Linked DNA regions of Homo sapiens: region 2 is linked to region 1. The links are contacts of gene promoters, found by promoter capture Hi-C in human tissues and cell types (Jung and others, 2019). All regions are on one chromosome and are shown on one strand. Each heading gives the region's core, a stretch centred on a gene start or on the middle of the fragment in contact. The rest is flanking DNA. Distances are from core to core; before and after follow the strand shown.

What was found. The method cuts DNA at HindIII sites, captures the fragments that hold promoters and counts their contacts. A contact is called where the count stands out against the background at its distance.
Region 2: the fragment with the promoter of PNPLA7 here is called in contact with the fragment with the promoter of NRARP in region 1 in 2 of the 25 tissues and cell types used here (IMR-90 fibroblasts and dorsolateral prefrontal cortex).

Annotation. Positions count from the first base shown.
Region 1 is chr9:137,299,717-137,303,540 of GRCh38, reverse strand. NRARP (NOTCH regulated ankyrin repeat protein) reads left to right here and starts at 1,270. Exons shown (of 1, transcript NM_001004354.3): 1 at 1,270-3,824. The coding sequence starts at 1,613. The coding sequence ends at 1,957. RefSeq lists silencers at 711-1,350, 2,033-2,112, 2,183-2,242, 2,363-2,412 and enhancers at 1,053-1,971, 3,771-3,824. The HindIII fragment of the contact is 30,312 bases long and covers 1-3,824 here.
Region 2 is chr9:137,549,152-137,551,651 of GRCh38, reverse strand. It overlaps PNPLA7 (patatin like domain 7, lysophospholipase), which reads left to right and starts at 1,250. Exons shown (of 35, transcript NM_001098537.3): 1 at 1,250-1,484. The coding sequence starts at 1,455. RefSeq lists a silencer at 1-451 and an enhancer at 1,640-2,141. The HindIII fragment of the contact is 18,703 bases long and covers 1-2,500 here.

The sequences.
Region 1 (3,824 bases), core at 21-2,520:
CCCTGCTCCGGTCAGCCAGGGTCTGTCCCGAAGGGAGCCTGCCCAGTTTTTCCTGCCAGTATGGGCACAGCATGGGGTGGGGACACACCCCTGTGGGGAGCCGGATGTGGGGACATGGAGCTGGTGGGCGGAAGCCTCCTCAGACAAGGCCTGGCATGGGGGTCTCCCCAGCCCGAGCTCAGAGCTGCCTGCGCGGAATTCCCGGCTTGGCTTCAGAAGGAATTCAAGCCCCAGCCTGCCTGGCCTCCTGCTCCGCGCCTGAGAATCACTCCTCCTTAATTTCCAACGACCACAGCGAGTTGTAAACTGTAAAACTCTAATGAGGAAATGCGCTGTGCTTCCCCTGCTAGTGCCTCCCGGTCAATTGTTAGAGTGGTCAATAAAAATGGGTTTTACAGTTTGGAAGCCAGGCGTTTCAGAATTCCCTTCTGGCCCTGGCGCCACACCTAGCCCTGCTCACCTGGGCAGGACCTATGTGTCCCGCATGCTGGTGCGTGGGCAGCAGAGGGAGGCAGGCCGCGGTCCCGACCCTCCCGCTGCGCCCCGGCCCGGGGCTTCCTCCCGAGAGGACAGCGGAACCCCCTTCACCGCCAGGCGATAGAAGCCGCGGTGGCCGGCCGGAGGCCCCTCGCATCAGTACGGTTGGGGCACACATAGGCTGAGCCGGCGGCCATGAGGCTGCCCGCGCGCGGGAAGGACCCGCGTGGCTGAAGGCCCCACGTCAGGGCCTGGAGTTGCCACCCGCGTGGACGGTGAGCCCGGAGGCGCGGGCTGGCCGGGGTCGCCGCGCGCCTCTCCGCTCAGAGGGGTCTCTCCTTCGCCACGGGCCTGAGATGCCCGCGAACCCCCTGCCCGGGAGAGGCCGCCCTCGGGGCCACCTGGCGGTCGCGCTCGGGTACCGGGCAAGGCCTGGGTCTGGCTGCTGAGGGAGCTTGGAATTCCCCGGGTGGCCGGAGGGAGAAGGGGCGGGACGACCGCAAAGAGACGCGGAGCGCCCGGGGGGCGCGCGGACGGCGGCGGCGACGGAGCTGGACCCCCCCGGCGGCCACCTGGCCTCCCCCGCCCAGGCGCTGCCGGCGACCAGCGCCCCCTGCCGCGAAGCGCGCCGCCGCCGGGACCCGCCCCCGGACCCCTGCGCACGGCACCGCCCACGCCCCGCCCCCATGTGGGCGCGGCCCAATCCCGGGGCCGCCGGCGCGCGCGTCACGGGCTGCCATTGTTATGCAAATATAAAGAAGGTAAAAGGCGCCCCGGCGCGGCGGGCGAGCTAGTGCTGCGGCGCGTGGGGAGGCGCCTTGGGACCGCGTGGGAGCCGCAGCCGAACCGAGTAGGGACCGGGACCGCGCGGCGCCGCCGTCCCCGGCCGGGCCCGGCCCCCGCGAGCCGAGCGCGCGCCCCCGTCGCCCACCCGGGCGCGGCTGGATGCGGCGGGGTCCCCGCGGCGGCGACCCCCGGCCCCGAGCGCCCGGAGCGCCCAGAGGCGGCGTGCGGGGCCCGGGGACGCCGCGCCCTCCATGCGCCGAGGCGCGCCCCGAGACAGCCGGGGGCCCGCGCCGCAGCCGCCGCCCGCGCTGAGCCCCGGCCCGGCCCGCGGCCCGCGCCCGGCGGCAGCATGAGCCAGGCCGAGCTGTCCACCTGCTCCGCGCCGCAGACGCAGCGCATCTTCCAGGAGGCTGTGCGCAAGGGCAACACGCAGGAGCTGCAGTCGCTGCTGCAGAACATGACCAACTGCGAGTTCAACGTGAACTCGTTCGGGCCCGAGGGCCAGACGGCGCTGCACCAGTCGGTCATCGACGGCAACCTGGAGCTCGTGAAGCTGCTGGTCAAGTTCGGCGCCGACATCCGCCTGGCCAACCGCGACGGCTGGAGCGCGCTGCACATCGCCGCGTTCGGTGGCCACCAGGACATCGTGCTCTATCTCATCACCAAGGCGAAGTACGCGGCCAGCGGCCGGTGATGCCCGCCGGGACCCCGGACCCCGGCCCTGCGCCCGCGTCGTCTCTGCTGTACCTTCCCGCCAACTACCTCGGTGCGCGCCCGGCTCGCAGGCCCCGCCAGAAGGCCCGTGGCCACGGCGAATACGGCGCGTGCGTCCCGGCCCCAGGGTCCGGCAGCCCCGCCGGCCGAGCGCCTCCCTGCGGCCTAGCCGGGCCCGGCCGGGCCGGAGCAGCTTCCCACGGCCCCCACCCGCTCGCCTGCCCGCCGCCTCGCGGGTGGGGGCGGGGCGCGGGCTCCAGCCCCTTTTGAAATTTGAGTCTCGCAACCAGCAAGTTCGGAATCCCGAGATACCGGATCCTCTGCGCAAAATGTTTTCTCCCGAAGGTGAAAGGCGGGCGGCGGGAGCCGAAGGCGGACTCGGAGCGCTCCGCCGCCGCCTTCAGGACCCGCCCGCAGGCCCGGGACGCGCCGATGCCGGCTGCAGCCGAGGAGCAGCCCCGAGGTCCGAGGTCCGCGCCGCTGGCGCGCGGCCGAGGAGACGCTCGGCTGTTCGCTGTTGCTGGTGTTCTAAACTATTTATCTTGTGTGTGTACATTTGTGGGTGGAGTTTGTGCGCCTGGTTTTTTTGTTTGGAAAACACTGCGTGGTCAATGTGGTTATGGGGGGGAGTGATGCATTTTTTTCTAGTCTTAAAACTAAAAACTTGAGTCTACCATTTCTTGGTTGCACTGAAAATACCGCCCAGCCTGATGGTGTTCCCGTGCTGTCCCTCCCCCTTCCCTTCTCCCCGCGTCTACCTCCCCACCCCGTTCTGTTCCCCCTCCCTCCTTCTCCCTCTCCCTCAAATCCGTGAGTTTTGGAAGCCCCAGGGCCTCTCTCCCCCGCCCCTCCTGGATGAGGCCACCATCCCCCAAACCGGCTTGTTTTGCAGTTTCCCCAGGATCCTGGAAGCTCGCTGGCGCTCGAGGGTGGCGGGGACACGGGGGGGTGGGTGAAGGTTCGTTACCTTTTCTAGTGCGTTCTATCATAGTTAACGGTTGCACACTTTTTTAAAAAAAGTAAATGGATTTGCCACAATTAAATGTCATAACATTTATGACAGAATATAAAATATTAACATATTTTAAGCCAAGTTTTAGGTGTATTTTTTGAATCTTGGTTATAAACCCAATTTTAAAGGGCGATGTATCCAGCGTTGTGAAGGCAACAGAGTGTACCCATATTTATATTTTTATAAAATACCTATAAGACTGTGAATCTCTTGTGCTAATGGCTGAGTTAATTGAAGGATCGTTTTGCCCCTTTTTAGCCTCCCAGAGCTTCGAGGACTCAATTCGAACCCGAAATCCTGCCGTGGGGGAGGGGTTGCGTCGAGACCTGGGCCCGGGGAGGTTCTCCTGCGTCACTTTCTGTCCTGAAAGGCGCCCTTCCTGGTTTCTGTGGCTCCAATTTTCTATGCAGCCCCACACCCCTTGTTGTTTTGATCCTGAGAAATAAAAGGGAGGCTGAATTATTCAAATTTAAATGAGGTTTCCCCTTCATGGAAGTGCTGCTGACCCTTCGTGCAGAAATGGGGAGCACTTGAGGACACAGGTGGGTGGAGGCCCTTTGTGCGTGGCTGGTCGTATTCGGGCAGCCCTCCGTCGCTTTTTATAAAACTTTGTGTGAGAAGAATATATTGATAATGTCAGTGAAACAAGCAGACATTGAAATGGAGGCACAGATTACTCCACAAGGAGTTCTTCTGTATATTTTTTCTAGATGCAAATACCTTTTTAATTATGTTAATTAATGTTAAGACTTTCTAGGCTTATATCGAAGCTGTGTGTGGGTCACGGGGTGATCACTGCTAACTGGATAAAGTTTGTGCAGCACATTCCTGAGTG
Region 2 (2,500 bases), core at 1-2,500, 250 kb before region 1:
CTGGCGGATGAGTGATCGCTCTCAGCGCGGTGGTCCCTGGCGTCTCCACTGCCCGCCACTGCCTGTGTTCGTCCGCCAGGTGGCCGGCGGTTTCCCGGGAGCCCAGTCCCCCTGAGGCCGTGAGGTGGCGTCGGGAGGTCGGGGAGGACGCGGGCCCTGGACTCGAGACGGCCGCCGCGTTGACGCCGCGACCCTGCCTTTCTTACCCCTCCGCCGGGCGCGGCTCCTCTGGGCGGAGCCGGCAACCGCGCGGGGAAAGCCCGGGACCTGCAGCCGGGAGGGCCCGGGCTGTCTGTGCTCCCCCGCAGGCCGGGCAGTGGTGTGGGGGGACTCGAGCCCTCGCGGTGCCCAAATTAATCAATAATCTTGGACCCAGCACGTCCGGCTTGCGCACTGAGCCCTCCTGCCCGGTCACCCTCGCAGGCGACCTCTCACCCCACGCGGAAGTCGCCCCCCAGCCGCACCCTCACAATCCGGATCCACCCCCTCCCCAGCTGCACCCCGTCCCCAGCGGCACCCCCACAGCCCAGATCCATCCCCTCTCCAGCTGCACGCCCTTCCCCAGCGGTACCCCCACACCCCAGATCCATCCCCTCCCCAGCTGCACCCCCTCCCCAGCGGCACCCCCACGCCCCAGATCCACCCCCTCCCCAGCTGCACCCCCTCCCCAGCGGCACCCCCACGCCCCAGATCCACCCCCTCCCCAGCTGCACCCCCTCCCCAGCGGCACCCCCACACCCCAGATCCACCCCCTCCCCAGCTGCACCCCCTCCCTAGCGGTACCCCCACTCGCCGGATCCACGCGCTCCCCAGCTGCACCCTCTCCCCAGCAGTACCCCCACACCCCAGATCCACCCCCTCCCCAGCTGCACCCACTCCCCAGCGGTACCCCTACACGCCGGATCCACCCCCTCCCCAGCTGCACCCACTCCCCAGCGGCACCCCCACACCCCAGATCCACCCCCTCCCCAGCTGCACCCACTCCCCAGCGGTACCCCTACACGCCGGATCCACCCCCTCCCCAGCTGCACCCTCCTCCCCAGCTGCATCCCCACACCCCGGATCCACGCCCCGCCAGCGTCACCTCCCCTCCAGCCGTGCTTCTCCAGAAGGCAGCGCTGCCCCCATCCCCGCCGCGCTGGGCCTGGCTCCTCTTGACCTGCTTGGATACGCCCCATCTGGCTGCTGTTCTGGGTTCCGGGACAGCCACGTGAGGGCTGTTTACAGAGGGAAGGAGGTGGCTCCTAGCAGATGACAGACACTTCTCAAAAGACAGCTTTTCTTCCTGGAGAACAGACTTTTTCAGCAGGATTTTCCTTTCAGTGAAACATAATTTGACTTGAAAGGAACCCAGGGAAAAGTGTCCAGGTGTGAGCATGAGCGGGTAGAGGTGTGCCCTTGTTTGCTTCAGGCTGTCTGCTTTTCGCCCCTGACTGTTTTTTCTGTTTCTGGCCATGGAGGAAGAGAAAGATGACAGCCCACAGGTATGTAACTCGGGGGACCAGATGCCTGGATTTCCCAGTTGGGGGGCATTTCTGGACCCAGAGAAGGGTCCTCTTGGCGTCTGCTCTGCCGCGCTCTTTGGCCCCGTGGCTTCTTGGCGCCTGAGGACTGTGGGAGTGGTGGATCTGGCCCCTCTCTGCTGCCTGTCACAGCTGCCAGCACTTGTTAGACGCGCCTGTCACAGCAGACAGCCAGTGGTGGCCCATGGGCATTGTTCACAGCGAGGGCAGCCAGCGGTGGCCCATGGGCATTGCCTGAGGCCTTGTCTTTTCTTCCCCTAAGGTCACAGTTGCTACTTCCAGTTCCTTTAGGACTTTGCCTGATGGTTTTGCTTAGAACCTTTTTCTGTGTTTTTTTTTTTCCCAAGACGGAGTCTCGCTCTGTCGCCCAGGCTGGTGTGCAATGGTGTGATCTTGGCTCACAGCAACCTCCGCCTCCTGGGTTCAGGCAATTCTGCCTCAGCCTCCCGGGTAGCTGGGACTACAGGCACCACGCCCGGCTAATTTTTGTATTCTTAGTAGAAACGGGGTTTCGCCATGTTGGCCAGGCTGGTCTTGAACTTTTTTTTTTTTTTTTTTTGAGACGGAGTCTTGCTCTGTCGCCCAAGCTGGATTGCAGTGGCACGATCTCAACTCACTGCAAGCTCTGCCTCCCAGGTTCACGCCATTCTCCTGCCTCGGCCTCCCAAGTAGCTGGGACTACAGGCGCCCACCACCACGCCCGGCTAATATTTTTTTGTATTTTCAGTAGAGACGGTGTTTCACTGTGTTAGCCAGGATGGTCTCGATTTCCTGACCTCGTGATCCGCCCGCCTTGGCCTCCCAAAGTGCAGGGATTACAGGCATGAGCCACCGTGCCCGGCCTAGTCTTGAACTCTTGACCTCATGATCTGCCCGCCTCGGCCTCCCAAAGTGCTGGGATTACAGGCGTGAGACACTGTGCCCAGCCCTAGAATCTTTTTCTTAGTCAAACATCTGTAGCCACATGGCAAAGGCCT